Linked DNA regions of Homo sapiens: all the other regions are linked to region 1. Evidence: promoter capture Hi-C in human tissues and cell types (Jung and others, 2019). All regions are on one chromosome and are shown on one strand. The core of a region is centred on a gene start or on the middle of the fragment in contact, and the rest is flanking DNA. Distances in the headings are between cores, read along the strand shown. Region 1 holds the start of LENG9 (leukocyte receptor cluster member 9). Region 2 holds the start of TMEM86B (transmembrane protein 86B). Region 3 overlaps SYT5 (synaptotagmin 5).

Region 1 (4,965 bases), core at 1,132-3,631:
ACAAGCTGGAGTTTTCTATCAGTCAAGTCTGGGAAGCACTCTGAAGGGTTTGTGAAATATTTGTTACTTGACCTCTAGGAAGGCTCAAGTATTCGCTCTCAGGAGGATCGGCATAGCATGGTGTTCATAGGCATTCTGGAGTCAGGTTAGATCCAAATGTGAGCTCAGCAGCTGTGCCCATGGGACCTCCTGGAGTCTCATCTTACCCCATCTGTGAAACGGGAGGCCGGGCGCGGTGGCTCACGCCTGTTATCCCAGCATTTTGGGAGACTGAGGCGGGTTGATCACCTGAGGTCAGGAGTTCAAGACCAGCCTGGCCAACATTGTGAAACCCCGTCTCTACAAAAATACAAAAATTGGCTGGGTATGGTGGCGGGTGCCTGTAATCCCAGCTACTCGGGAGACTGAGGAGGAAGAATCGCCTGAACCCGGGAGGCGGAGGTTGCGGTGAGCCGGGATGGCGCCATTGAACTCCAGCATGGGCGAGACTCCGTCTCAAAAACAAAAATCAAAAAACAAAAAACGGGAACCGTCCCCCATCGTCCTTTGAGCAGTCGCGTGGCTGCGAGCCCCGGGCTGGGGCCGCGCTGACCCTCCCGTGCCCCTCGCAGATGCCCGTGCTGAAGCAGCTGGGCCCCGCGCAGCCCAAGAAGCGGCCTGATCGCGGCGCCCTGTCCATCTCCGCGCCGCTCGGCGACTTCCGGCACACGCTGCACGTGGGGCGCGGCGGCGACGCCTTCGGGGACACCTCGTTCCTGAGCCGCCACGGCGGCGGGCCGCCCCCCGAGCCCCGGGCGCCCCCCGCGGGGGCCCCGCGCTCCCCGCCGCCGCCCGCCGTCCCGCAGTCCGCAGCGCCCTCGCCTGCCGACCCGCTGCTGTCCTTCCACCTGGATCTGGGGCCCTCCATGCTGGACGCGGTGCTGGGCGTCATGGACGCGGCGCGCCCGGAGGCGGCTGCCGCCAAGCCCGACGCGGAACCCCGCCCCGGGACGCAGCCCCCCCAGGCCCGCTGCCGCCCCAACGCGGACCTCGAGCTGAACGACGTCATCGGCCTCTAGGTTCCCTCATTCCCCGCGCCCTTCCCGCCCGGCACCCCACTTCTGTATACATAAACGGCCAAGGTGTGTGCCCGGGCTCTGACTTTTCACTTTGCACGTGGAAAGGGATGAATGATAGGGTCCTGGCGCCTCTGAGAGCCGGATGTGTCACCCGGAGGCCTGGTCCGGGTCCGATGATTGCCCTGGGGTGGGGGTGCGGCTCCTTTAAGAGAGCCCGAGGGCGTGGCCAGGCGGTGCCCCTTGCAGAGGCGGCGGCTCCCGCAGTCCCATTCGTCAAATACTGTGCGCCACCGCCGGCCGGACGTGGTCCTGGGGCCGGGCCAGACTCAGCCACCGCGGGGCCAGCCGAGGCGGGGCTGCAGAGTGCTGCAGCCCCAGGAGTCTTTCTGGCCCTGAACGCCTCAGGTGGACTCCGACCCGGCGGAGCCGCCGTTTACTCTGGGAGCGGCTGCAGAGGGAAGTGTCTGAGAACACTTTTAGAGCAGTAGGGGCCTGGTCTCCGTGGGGGAAGGGTCCGCAGGCATCTTGGTTCTTTAAGGCCCCCGAGGGATGGGGCCGAACATGCAAATGATTTGGACTGAGGGGCCAGGTTCTCGTAAGTTTCCCAGAGGGGCGGGGCCGCAAATGTAAATCACTTGGACTGAGGGCGGGTCCAGGTTCTTTAAAGACGTCCCCTCATGGGCGGGGCACACAGGTATCACCGGGAAAGGGGCGGGGCACCACATGTAAATCACCGGGAAAGGGATGGGACACAGGTAAATCACCCGGAAAGGGGCGGGGCACCACATGTAAATCACCTTAAAACGGACAGGGCACACATGTAAATCACTTGGGGAGAGGCACACACGTAAATCACCCGGAAAGAGGCAGCACAAAAGTATCACTGGGAAAGGGCCAGGGCACGCATGTAAATCACCCGGAACGGGGCGGGACACATGTAAATCACTTGAGAAGGGGAGAGGCACTCGTAAATCACCCGGAAAGGGGCGGGGCATTACATGTAAATTACCCTGAAAGGAGCGGGGAACATATGTAAATCACTTGGGAAGGGGAGAGGCACACATAAAAAAAAAAAAAAATCACCTAAAAGGGGTGGGGCACTCGTAAATCACCAGGAAAGGGGCGGGGCACCACATGTAAATCACCGGGAACGGGGCGGGGCACTACATGTAAATCACCTAAAGGTCGAGGCACACGTAATCATCCCGAAAGGGGCGGGGCATTACATGTAAATCACCCAGAAAGAGGCAGCACACATCAATCACCGGGAAAGGGGCGGGGCCAGGCTCCCAAGAGCTCCGGGAGACCGAGACTGCCGCAGCCTTTACGCAGCTTGCTTTCCTGGCGCTGGGGGAGGGCGCAGCCGGGAAGTCCCAGAGCAGCGGTGTCAGGCTCTCCACCAAGGAGGGACTGGGCCAGAGTCCTCGCGAGGGCACGCGGCGTGGTCCCCAGAGCTAGGCCGGAGCGCGGGCCGCTGACGCCACTGTCGGGTGAGGCTCGGTGCATCCAAGGGGAGCCGCCCTCCGTGCGGGGCGACCTCGTCTGCGCGGCGGGCGTGCCAGTTCCCCGCACCCATGGCAGCGGCCAGAGAGCCGGAGTTGCCGCAGGAAGCCCCCGCCACGGAACCCGCGCCCCCGCCGGCCTGCCGCTTCTTCCTGGAAGGCCGCTGCCGCTTCGGCGCCCGCTGCCGCCAGCCCCACCCTGGGGCGCCGGCGCCGCCTGGCCGCGAGGCGCAGCCGGAGGCCGGGGCCAAGAAGCCGCCGCTGCGCACAGCCGCGGACGTCATCCAGCGCATCCGCTGGGACCCGCGCCTCGACCCCGCCGACTTCTCGGTGGGCTACGTCGACCGCTTTCTGGGTGTGCGCGAGGAGCCCTTCAGCGCCTTTTGCTGGGACCAGCCGCTGGCGGCGCTCGGGCCGGGCGTGCTGGCAGTGCCCCAGCACCGCGTGCGCTTCTTCCGCTTCCGTGGCCGCCTTGTGTGGGACCGCGCCTCGCGCACCGACCTCGTCTTTGGCTCTGGCTCGGCGGCGGGACGCGGGCCCACCATCCTGGACGCACCGAACACCGAGGGCGCCCACGGGGCAGAGGGTGCCGAGTGGACACTGGCGGGGACAGGTCAGGAGGCCCAGGCTGCCCCCAAGCGAGGGAGCACAAGGCCGCTCTGCACAGGGCACCAGGAACCAGGCGTGGAGGAACCCGGAGAGCTGGAGGCGGCCCAGGAGAGGGCGCTGGGCACAGCTGCTGATTTGGGAACACTGGCCCCAAGAGGACGCCTCGCCGGAGTGACTGAGGCACTGAAGCCAACAGCAGCCACCAGGACCACATTGCTGGGGGGCAAGGAAGCACAGGCCCTGGGAGTCCCGGGGGGCTCCGCTGAGACGACAGAAGCCGAGTGGGGTCCTGCGGCCTGGCCCGAGGACAAAAGGGCCCGCCTTAGTGTTGCAGCCCCTTGCCAACCGCGCCCCACACATTTTGTGGCCCTCATGGTGACCGAGCCTGGGCTACAAGCAGAAGTGACCAAGGCCCAGGAATACCTGGTCCACGTGGCCCCACACTGCGCCAACTTCCTAGTGCCCTCTCAGAACCTACACCTGACCCTGGCCCTGCTGCGACTGGCAGGCGCTGGGGAGGAGGCCGCTGCCATTGGAGCTCTGAGACGGGCCCTCTTGGCCCCGGGGCTAAATGCACCCCCTCGGCTGAGCTTTAGAAAGCTGGTCCTCCTGGGCCCGCATGTGCTGTGTGCCCCACCCTCTCCCACACTGGAAAGCATGGCACAAGTGCTGAGCCAGAGGCTGGAAGCCGAGGGGCTGAGTACACTACAGTCTCCAGGGCAGCTGCACCCCCACCTCACCGTGGCCAAGGTGCCCCATGGTTCCCAGGTCCACCTCCCCAAGCTGGAGTTCACCCTCAGCCAGGAAGTGGGGTGCCAGCCCCTGCAGACACTCTGGCTGTGCCGTATAGGGAGGACAGGGGGGCCTTTCCAGCCCCTGGCTGAGATCCCCCTGGAGTGACACCCCCAGACCTCTGGAGGAGACAATGGATGCAAACAGCCCACACAGGAAAGACAAAGCAGGAGCGTGCACGCTCTCTCTTTCTCTCTTTAATTTTGGTTTCTCTCAAGCTTCCAAATGGTGCTCAGTGCTCCAAGGAAAGGAAGGAAGGAAGGAAAAGGAGGGGAGAGGAGGGGAAGGGGAGGCAGAGGAGGAACATCTGGAAAAAAAGCAGCCTGACAGTCCAGCTGTTTGCAAACTCATAGCACATCCTCCAGTTACATGGCAGAAGAGGGAGGGAGGGAGGGCCAAAAAGAAAAGGGAGAGGAGGAAGAAAAATAACTTAAATAAACACACACACAAAGAAAAGAGAAGGCAACATGACGTGAGCTGGTGATCCATGAAGGCAGGGAGGGAGGGGAACCGTTTTACCTGTGCTGAACCAAGGGAAGAATGCGGAGAGGGAGGGAGGGAAAGGGGAAAAAAAAATCAGAAGAAACACTGGGGGCAGAGGGAGGAGGGGACACGGAGACAACTTTATACAACTTGAGACGAGGCGGCCCGGCCGGCGTGTCCTCAGTGCGGTGTGGCGGCGGAGGATCTGGTGCTGGTGGTGCTGGCACTTCAGGGTGGGGGGCCGAGGACGGGCACAGTCTCTAAGCAGCTCCCCCACCCCAAACACGGAGGCCCCAAGGGGCTGGGAACAAGAGTCTGTGGCGAAGCAGGTGAGGCAGCGGGCGGTGGGCGGGCTTGCTGGGTGCCCCCGCCGCAGGCGGGCACGGGCTGGACGGCCTGTCTTCTTTCCACTGGCCCCCCGGCATGGGATGGGCCAGGGCGCCGGGTCGGGTACCGGAGTGCAAGCTCGAAAGAGAGAGAGAGAAAACACTGAGACAGCATTAGTGGAGTGAAAGGCGGAC
Region 2 (4,965 bases), core at 1-2,500, 760 kb before region 1:
GTGGGGGCCGTGCCTTTGCCCAGACCCTGCACTTTCAACCAGGCCAGTCCGGCTCTGGGGAGCAGGGGCCTCCCCGGCAACAGCCCCAGGGGCCTTGAGGGTCTGAGGTCCCAGCCCTGTTGCCAAGTGACCTTGTCCCCAGCTCCCTCCTCCCAGGCTGGTGTGAGTGTGCGTGCGTTTGTGCCGAGCTTCTATTTCATATTGCAAATATAAATAAAGGAAGGCAGTTTACGATTCTGCTGGTCAGACCTTACGTTCTGGGATGCGGGGTGGGGAGCCTGTATTATCCCTGCACCCCAGAGGCTGGGGGTGCTCCTGACCCAGTCTGCCCCCACACTGTCCTGCCAGAGGGAGCCCTGTGGCTGCAGAGGCCCCAGGCTGGGCCAGGCACTGGCTGTGAGGGCTCCTGCCAGGTCTACCCCACCTGTGGGCAGGGCCTTGGGCAGAGGATAGAAGCCACCGACAGGCTCAAATCCCTGCTCCTGCCCCTGCTTACCCCCAGTAACCAAGCCCAGCATTGAGGCTGGGTACTGGCGCCCAGTAGGTCTGAGTCTTTCAGGTAGAAGGTAGAAGTGTAGGCTGCGTGTGCAGCGAGTGGCACCGGTGAGCGGCGCTGGGAAACCGGAGCGTGTGGACCGGGCCATGAGGACAGCGTCCTCACTGGGGTGGCAGTTGGCTTGGAGGTCACCTGGGGGCTCGCTCAGCTAACAGGAGAGGGTGCTTGTTCCCCGCATTCGTGGTGGTCCCTCCTGGTCACCCATTGAAGCAGTGTTTGTGGTGGAGCCCCTGAGGGCTTGGTGGGGTTGAGCAGAATGAGGAAAGGTTTCATGGAGCAGGGAGGGAGACGGCTAGGGCAGCAAGTGAAGGACAGACTCGCCTTCCCATCCCTCCAGGGGCACTCCTGCCAGCCAGCCCCTCTCCCGCTTCCCATGATGGGGTGGCTGTTGGAATTCTGCACCCCATCTCTTCTGATTGTTGGGGCCCAGGACAAGGGGACAGGCATTTGTGGGCCTAACCTCCCCAGGCAGATAGGAGGAGGAAGCCATGTCCCAGCAGGCTAGGGCAGAGGGACCCCCAGTGCCAACAGTGCTTTATCAGCGGGCGCCAGGCAGGGCCATCCCCAGGGTGAGGACAACATCTCCCTGGGCCCTGTTATCAGTCACAGAGTCCACAGGACGCTCCTTGGGTTAACGTGTAACCATGAGCCCTCCCCTCCACCCCCTGAAGCCACTCGCTCCCAGATTAGGTCGCTCTGGGGCTATCAGGCCAGCATGGACGCTGGCAAAGCGGGGCAGACCCTGAAGACTCACTGCTCAGCCCAGGTGAGAGCCTTCTGAGCTGTGCCTGGGGCTGGGGGGACAGGGCCCTGGAACCCCAGCAGCCGGCGGGTCTGGGAGCTGCTGTCCTTGAGTTGGTTGGGCCCTGGGAAGCTGGGTTCTGGCAGCCTGGTCCCTGAATGGGTCCAGCCTGTACAGCTGGGGTCCCAGGTGGGGGTGGGACAGGAGCCATGAGATCTGAGTCCCAAGAATGGGGGCTGGGCTGGGTTTCGGCTCAGTAGCTCCCCACTCCCCAAAGCGCCCAGATGTCTGCAGGTGGCTGAGCCCCTTCATCCTCTCCTGCTGCGTGTACTTCTGCCTCTGGATTCCCGAGGACCAGCTGTCCTGGTTCGCTGCCCTGGTCAAGTGCCTGCCCGTCCTCTGCCTGGCTGGGTTCCTGTGGGTCATGTCCCCAAGCGGGGGCTACACCCAGCTCCTCCAGGGAGCCCTTGTGTGCTCGGCTGTGGGGGACGCTTGCCTCATCTGGCCGGCAGCCTTCGTCCCTGGTGAGTGGAAGGTGCTGTGACGCTTTCCAGATGCCCGTGTGAGAGAGGCCCCAGCACTTGGATGGGAGCCTGGGTGCAGAGGGCTCCTGTGAGAGCTCCAGTGGTCAAAGGCACAGTGGGGGGCGCAGCCGTGACCGAGGCAGCTCACGCTCCAGCGAGGGGTGGGGGCAGGCGGTGTTAGGGCAGTAGCTGAGGTGGCGCAGAGGGCAGTGAGGACCTGCTGGAGGTACTGCAGTTTGAAGCAGGGTTGCTGAGGAAGGCCTCACTGAGGAAGTCACATTTGGGCAGAGCTGAAGGGCTGTATGCCTGTGTGGAGGAAGGGCGAGTGTAAAGGCTCCGGGGCAGGGACGTGTCAGGTGCTTGTAGCCCAGCAGGCCAGGGTGGCTGGCGCAGAGTGGCTGGAGAGCTGGAGGCCATGGGGCTTTGGAGGCCAAGGGAAGGTGGGGCCTCCTGGCAGTTCTGAGCAGAGCAAGGATGGACACTGCATGTGGGGAGACCTGCAAGGAGGCTCGGCCAGGGTGGGGCCTGGTGCTCTGGGATGGTCCTTCTCTTAGGCCCTGAGGGGTGACCTCGGGGCCATTCCCAGGATGGGCCTTCCTCACTGGTACCCCACCCCTCTCCCGCCAGGCATGGCCGCCTTTGCCACCGCCCACCTCCTCTACGTCTGGGCCTTCGGCTTCTCTCCCCTGCAGCCCGGCCTGCTGCTGCTCATCATCCTGGCCCCTGGCCCCTACCTCAGCCTTGTGCTCCAGCACCTCGAGCCGGATATGGTCCTGCCGGTGGCAGCCTATGGGCTGATCCTGATGGCCATGCTGTGGCGCGGCCTGGCCCAGGGCGGGAGTGCCGGCTGGGGCGCGCTGCTCTTCACGCTCTCTGATGGCGTGCTGGCCTGGGACACCTTCGCCCAGCCCCTGCCCCATGCCCACCTGGTGATCATGACCACCTACTATGCTGCCCAGCTCCTCATCACACTGTCAGCCCTCAGGAGCCCGGTGCCCAAGACTGACTGACTAGGGAGCTTGAAGGGCCGGTGTTCAGGCCCTCTCCTCCTGCAAGGACCTGGGCCTCCCAGCCCAGCCCAGCCTGAGAAATACCCTCAGCAGCGAAGCTTCCTGACGCCTGTCTGCAGGCGCCGCTGCCGCCGTCGCTTCTGGCTGAAGACGTTTGAGGACGATTTGCGGAATTCCAAGTCCACTACTGGGTTCCAGCTGCCTTCCCCCGGTTCTGACTCCAGATCCCTGGCTCCTCAGCCAGGCCCACATGGAGCCCTCCCAGCCACCAGCCTGCCTCCATGTTCACTGTCGGCCCCACAGCCTGCCCGCCCCCTGCTGCTGCTCTGAATCCGTTTTCCCTGTGGGTGTGGAACCGTAGATGTTGCTGTTACCGTAGGAGAGGCCTCGGGGAGGGTCATGATTGTGATAAACCATCGCGGTTAATGACAGCAGAAGGTTCTTTGTCGCTCCCCATGGACCAGGCCTGGTGCCCAGTGGGACCCTCCATGGCCCTCTGGTGGGGGGATTCGGGGGGATAAAGTGAGGATTGTGCAGAACTGAGCCAAGAGGACTGTTTGGTCTTTGTGTTAGTTTCCTGAGGCTGCTGTCACAAATTACCCCAAGCCAGATGCTTTGAAACAAGATGAATGGACTCTCCTGCAGTTCTGGAGACCCAAAGTCCAAAATCCGGGTGTTTTCCGGCCCATGGTCCCTCTTGAGGCTCCAGGGAAGAATCCGTCCTTGCCCTCTCGGCTTCTGGAGGCTCCCGGGAATCCCTGGCTTCCATCGGCCTGTGGCTGTGTCTCTCCGTCTTCATGTGACTGTCTTCAACTGGCAGCCTCCCTCTGTGTCCGCATCCTTCTAGGGACACAGGTCATTGGATTTAGGGCCCACCCTAAACCCAGGGTGATTCTATCTCAAGATCCTTAAGTATGTCTGCAAAGCCCCTATTTCCAAGTAGTGTCACCTGCAGAGGTATCTGGGGTTAGGACTTGGACATATCTTTCTAGGGGATACAACCCGCTGCAGTCACATGCAGTATCGGGAGAAGGGTGGGAGGCTTGAGGATGAGGGGTCTTGGAGGAGGGAGGGCGGCAAGGGGGTAGGAATCAAATGGGAAGGAGGAACCCAGCTGTGCTCCTTGTCAAGGCTGTGTGACCTCGGCAAGCTGCTATCCCTCAGGTCCTCAGATTCTGCATCTGAAGACTTGACAGGGTCCAAGCTGCTCTCCAAGACCCTATTTGACTTCTGCATCCATGATGTGCTTTCAGTGACTCATAGCAGAGGGGCGACTTCTCCATCCATGGTTAGCATTTAGAGACTCTTACAGCAGAGAGGCGACCTCTCTATCCATGACCTGCATTTAGGGACTCTTAGAGCAGAGGTGACTTCTCCATCCATGACCTGCATTTAGGGACTCTTACGACAGAGAGGGGACTTCTCCATCCATGGCCAGCATTTAGGGACTCTTACAGCAGAGAGGTGACTTCTCCATCCATGACCTGCATTTAGGGACTCAGATGTGAGAGTACAGAGGTGGGAAGGGAAGGTGGGGAGCCTGGAGGACGGGGACCAGGAAGGAAAGTGAGGACAGGAATCCACAGTTGGAGTGAGGAGAAGTGGAAGCTGAGGGATTTCCTTGAGGAAGGGTCAGGCATGAGGAGGATCTGAAGGATTGGACTCAGGTTCGAAACCTCCACTTCCTCCTCATCTCCTACCCTCTCCACTCAGACCTGGCGAAAGGTGGGGAAAGAGGAAATTGCGCAGTGAAGTGTAGCAGGAGGGACGGGGGTCTGGGTGTGCAGATTCCAGGGGCACGTGGGGCCTGCAGACATGAGGGGTTCCTGGAGGTGAGGGAGGAGGGGCTGGAACCTGGACTCCTGGGTCTGAGGGAGGAGGGGCTGGGGCCCTGGACTTCTGAGTCTGAGGGAGGAGGGACTGGGGCCTGGACCCCTGAGTCTGAGGGAGGAGCTGGGGGCCTGGACTCCTGAGTCTGAGGGAGGAGGGGCTGGGCCTGGACTCCTGAGTCTGAGGGAGGAGGGGCTGGGCCTGGACTCCTGAGTCTGAGGGAGGAGGGGCTGGGGGTCTGGACTCCTGGGTCTGAGGGAGGAGGGGCTGGGGGTCTGGACTCCTGAGTCTGAGGGAGGAGGG
Region 3 (4,965 bases), core at 532-3,031, 710 kb before region 1:
AGCCGGGGCTCTGGTGATGGGCCCCTCTCCTTTCAGCAGGAGAAGCTTGGGGACATCTGCTTCTCCCTCCGCTATGTCCCCACGGCCGGGAAGCTCACCGTCATCGTCCTGGAGGCTAAAAACCTGAAGAAGATGGACGTAGGAGGACTGTCAGGTGTGTGGGAAGCAAGGGAGTGGGGTGTGTGGGGATGGCGTGGGGTGGGTTCTCGTTCTGACAGTTTCTGAGCCTCGAGGGTTTCTTCGGGGACAGGGAGGACCTGGCTGCTGTGGAAGGCATGGATTTTGGCATAGAGCTAGGGAGACCCGAAGGGTGTAGGCAGTGTTTCTATGTTGGTCCAACAACCCAGCAGTGGGGAGCTATAAGACTCCTCCTTCCTCTCCCCAGATCCATACGTCAAGGTCCACCTGCTGCAGGGCGGCAAAAAGGTGCGGAAGAAGAAAACCACCATCAAGAAGAACACTCTGAACCCCTATTACAACGAAGCTTTCAGCTTCGAGGTGCCCTGTGACCAAGTCCAGGTGAGCTCAAACCTGCCCTTCTCCAAGAGCCCAGACCTTTAGTAATCGCCATTGCTAGGCGGAGGGAGACTTTTTAGCATCTCCCTAGAAACCAGGTGAGGGGGTCTGAGGTTATGCTCTCAGTCTGTTTCCTCCTATGAGGACCAGGAAGCCTCTTCCACTCCAGGAAGAGACTCCTTAAAATTGGGTGTGGGTGTCCTATCTGCTCTAAGCGGGACCGGGATGTCCCACCCCTAAGCAGTACCAGATGCTCCACCCTAAGCAGGATCAGTATGCCCCGCCCCACCAAGCGGAACCAGGATGCTCCGCCCCCAAGCAGGACCAGGATGCCCCGCCCCCAAGCAGGACCAGGATGCCCCGCCCCCAAGCGGGACCAGGATGCCCCACTCCTAAGCGGGACCAGATTCCCCACCCTAAGCAGGACCAGGATGCCCCGCCCTCCTCAGGAACGTGGTTCTAAGAAAAAGAGACCTCCCCTCACTTCTTTAGGGACGGCGCCTACCCTAGCCCGGCCCCTGTTAAAGTTCTGCAGCTTTGCGGCTCTTAGGAGGCTGCTCCCCCAGGAGGCGCCGAACACACCCGCTCCGCAACCGAGTCCTGAGGGTTCATTTCCTTAGAAACCTGGCTGCGCAGGAAGAAAGGCGCCAGAGCCTCCTCCTCGCCGCAGGCTCCGTCCCTCTCGTCTCCCACCCCCTCCCCCGTCCCGAGCTCCGGGGCCCCGAGCCCTCGGGTGGCAGCGAGAGGTACCCTCAGCCGTGAAAACGGACACCGCCCCTTCCGGGGCCTCCTCCCCTCACGCTCCTCTCTCCTCTTCCTCCCGCGCCCACCCCAGAAGGTGCAGGTGGAGCTGACCGTGCTGGACTACGACAAGCTGGGCAAGAACGAGGCCATCGGGAGGGTGGCCGTGGGGGCGGCCGCCGGCGGGGCTGGCCTGCGGCACTGGGCGGACATGCTGGCCAACCCGCGGCGGCCCATTGCCCAGTGGCACTCGCTGCGGCCCCCGGACCGAGTGAGGCTGCTGCCTGCGCCCTGACTCCCACCCCAAGCCCCCGGCCAAGCCTGGACTCTAGCCCCTGACCCCAGACTCCCGAGACCGGCCAAAGCCAAGCCAGCCCCACCCTTAAGCTTCCTCTGACGGTTACCCTCCCCCCACCTTCCACCCCAACCATCTGAACCATTCCTGTCTTCTCACCCCCAACGATGCCAATCACGACAACTTTCCAGCACACTCCCCCGACCCTCGCGGACACACCCAGATGCCCCAGGGACCCCGGGAAGGGAAGGCAGCCTGGTTTCTCCTGCCCCCGGGTCCTGCCCCCTGCTTTGACAATCAGCCATCCTCGTCTGCTCTCCTCTCTCTTCCAACACAGCCCATCCCTGCACTGCTCCTGGGGCCAAATAAATATTCAGCAGCTCCGGTGGCCTGGGCCCATGCTCCTTGATGGGGGTGGGCAAGGGCTGGGACCCAAGAGGAAACCTCGTTTCCAGGAATGGGCGCTCGCAGGGCGGTGTGAGTGCTGTTCGTCCTGAAAGCCTCTGAGAGACTGGCCTGACCCCATGGACTCCCTCACACTCTCACCCGTTCATTCCTCACTCACCACTCTGAGCCTGGGTTTCCTCCTCTGGAGAATGTTGGGATAATAATAATTCCTGCCACACGCTGGCTGTGAGGAGTCCGCGAGAACTCCCTTGCTTGTCCATGAATTTATCCACTCGCTTGCTCACCCATGACTCACATCGATTTTCATACCCATTTCTGCATCCCTCCCTCCCTCTCTTTTTTTTCTTCCTTCCATTCCATATTCCCTGAGGTCTTCTGTTGAGTGCTGGGGCCCCAGAATATCCAAACACAGACCTGACCCCCCAAGCGACTTACTGCCATCAAAACAAAGGAGAGGCGCGGAGCCAGGGAATACAATCTCCAGAGCCTGCGAGAGAGGTTGGAGTTCAGCAAGGAAAGCCAATGATTTCAACTTCACCTCTTTCTTTTTTCTTTTCTTTTTTCCTTTTTGTTTTCTTTCTGTCTTTCCTTTTCTTTCTTTTTCTCTTGTTTTTTTTTTGTTTGTTTGTTTTTTTGTTTTTGTTTTTGTTTTTTTGAGATGAAGTCTCACTTTGTCGCCCAGGCTGGAGTGCAGTGGCACGATTTCGGCTCACTGCAAGCTCCTCCTCCCGGGTTCACGCCATTCTCCTGCCTCAGCCTCCCGAGCAGCTGGGACTACAGGCGCCCGCCACCACACCCGGCTAATTTTTTTGTATTTTTAGTAGAGACGGCATTTCACCGTGTTAGCCAGGATGATCTCGATCTCCTGACCTCGTGATCCGCCCGCCTCGGCCTCCCAATGTGCTAGGATTACAGGCGTGAGCCACCGCGCCCGGCCCTTCTTCTTTTCTTTTCTTTTCTATTTCTTTTCTTCTCTTCTTCTTTTTTTTAATTTTGAGACGGAGTTTCGCTGTTGTTGCCCAGAATGGAGGGCAATGGTGCAATCTCGGCTCACCGCAACCCCTGCCTCCCGGGTTCAAGCGATTCTTCTGCCTCAGCCTCTTCTTTCTTCTTTTTTTGACAGGGTTTCTCTGTGTACCCTGGCTGGAGTGCGGTGGGGCAATCATAGCTCACTGCAGCCTCAACCTCCTGGGCTCAGGGGATCCTCCTGCCTCAGACTCCTGAGTAGCTGGGACCACAGGCACATGCAACCATGCCTAGCTAATTTTTTCTTTTCTTTTCTTTTCTTTTTTAGAGATGGGGTCTTGCTATGTTGCACAGGCTGGTTTCAAACTCCTGCAATCCTCCTGTGTGAGTAGCTGGGACTGTAGACATGAGCCGCCGCATCTGACCTCATTGTTCTTTCAACGAATGCTGCCTCCTACTCTGTTTCTAGCAAAGATGATAGTTCCATTGGCTTCTACCTTATCTCATCCCATACAGAATTTTGGGTGGTGAACAAAGACCTATAAGATTTGGCCAGAGAACTCTCTGAGCAGCAGATTAAGTGGAGAATGAGGCAAAAATTACCCCCACGTACCAAAAAAGGAGGCAGCAAACAAACTTACTTGCTCCTAAGCTTCCTGGTAGCCAATCGGGAAAGTGAAAATAGAACAGCTACACAGATTATAATATCCATGAGATTTTTAATTTTTCTCCAAAGGAATTCAGTAACTTTTCATGTGTGTGAGTGTGTGTGTGTGTGTGTGTGTGTGTGTGTGTGTGTGTGTGGCTGTAGAGCATGTCTTTATGAAGACAGCCCTTTATGTTACTACTATTACTGCCAATAATAATCCTCACAGCAAACTCATGAAATAAACATGATCATTATTCCCAGTTGACAAATGAGTCCAAACTGTGCTTTAGAAAATTTGGGGCTGGGCGTAGTGGCTCACGCCTGTAATCCCAGCACTTTGGGAGGCTGAGGTGGGCGGATCACCTATGGTCAGGAATTCAAGACCAGCTGGGCCAACATGCTGAAACCCTGTCTCTACTAAAAATACAAAAATTAACTGGGTGTCGTGGCAAGCACCTGTAATCCCAGCTACTAGGGAGGCTGAGGCAGGAGACTCGCTTGAACCCAGGAGGTGGAGGTTGCAGTGAGTCGAGATCGCGCCATTGCACTCCAGCCTGGACAACAAGAGCAAAACTCCATCTAAAAAAAGAGAGAGAGAGAGAGAGAGAGAATTCCTGTGAAATGCTCAGAATCACACAGCCAGAGAGCCTGTCTCTAAATCCTGGGATTGATTTAGATGATGGCAATGGGGTCCTTGGGTCTCTGTCTCAACAAGAAAGCAGAGCGATAGAAGAATAAAACCATTACAAATGGCCGTCCACACTGGGACCAAAACGTAAAAAGGCTGACATAACTTAGGGAGGGTGGTCAGGGGCAGCCTTGCTGAGGAGGTGCGGTCTGGGCCATGACTTGAATGACAAGAAGGAACGAAGCTTGCAAAGGTTAGGGAGAACAACAGTGGAATATTATTTGGTCATAAAAACAGAAGAAAGCATTGATTCATGCTTCAGCATAGATGAGTCCTGAAAATATTATGCCAAGTGAAGGAAGCCGGATACAGAAGGCTGCATAGTGCAGTATTCCATCCAAAAGAAATCTCCTGCACTGACAAATACATAGAGACAGAAAGTAGATTCGTGGTTGCCAGGGACAGAGGAGAGAGAAATGGGGAGATAAATGGGGTACGTGTTTTCTTTTGGAGTGATGAGAAAGTTCTGGAATTAGACAGTGGTGATGGTTGCACAGCATTGCAAGTGTACTAAATGTCATTCCCAATCAACTTAATAGTGTGTGTGTTTTACACCAATTTAAAAAGAAAACAAGGCCAAGCACGATGGCTCATGCCTTAATCCTAGCACTTTGGGAGGCAGGAGGATTGCTTGGGGCCCAGGGTTAGACACCAGCCTGGATAACCTCTCTATTTTTAAAATTTGTAAAGTTAGCTAGGTAT

What was found. Contacts are between HindIII fragments. The study calls those that stand out against the background at their distance.
Region 2: a contact is called between the fragment with the promoter of TMEM86B here and the fragment with the promoter of LENG9 in region 1, in 3 of the 25 tissues and cell types used here (H1 embryonic stem cells, liver and mesendoderm cells).
Region 3: a contact is called between a fragment that was not itself captured here and the fragment with the promoter of LENG9 in region 1, in 2 of the 25 tissues and cell types used here (dorsolateral prefrontal cortex and neural progenitor cells).

What each region holds. Positions count from the first base shown.
Region 1 is chr19:54,461,194-54,466,158 of GRCh38, reverse strand. It overlaps LENG9 (leukocyte receptor cluster member 9), which reads left to right and starts at 2,381. Exons shown (of 1, transcript NM_001301782.2): 1 at 2,381-4,427. The coding sequence starts at 2,633. The coding sequence ends at 4,069. CDC42EP5 (CDC42 effector protein 5) reads left to right here. Exons shown (of 3, transcript NM_145057.4): 3 at 612-1,133. The coding sequence starts at 612. The coding sequence ends at 1,058. LENG8 (leukocyte receptor cluster member 8) reads right to left here. Exons shown (of 16, transcript NM_052925.4): 16 at 4,143-4,965. The HindIII fragment of the contact is 37,347 bases long and covers 1-4,965 here.
Region 2 is chr19:55,225,048-55,230,012 of GRCh38, reverse strand. TMEM86B (transmembrane protein 86B) reads left to right here and starts at 1,250. Exons shown (of 3, transcript NM_173804.5): 1 at 1,250-1,322; 2 at 1,576-1,822; 3 at 2,450-3,375. The coding sequence starts at 1,272. The coding sequence ends at 2,832. PPP6R1 (protein phosphatase 6 regulatory subunit 1) reads left to right here. Exons shown (of 24, transcript NM_014931.4): 24 at 1-234. The HindIII fragment of the contact is 10,515 bases long and covers 1-4,965 here.
Region 3 is chr19:55,170,071-55,175,035 of GRCh38, reverse strand. SYT5 (synaptotagmin 5) reads left to right here. Exons shown (of 9, transcript NM_003180.3): 7 at 37-154; 8 at 386-519; 9 at 1,352-3,840. The coding sequence ends at 1,552. Among named protein-coding and RNA genes, the nearest start is that of DNAAF3, 5.9 kb to the right of the region's middle. The HindIII fragment of the contact is 4,464 bases long and covers 1-4,013 here.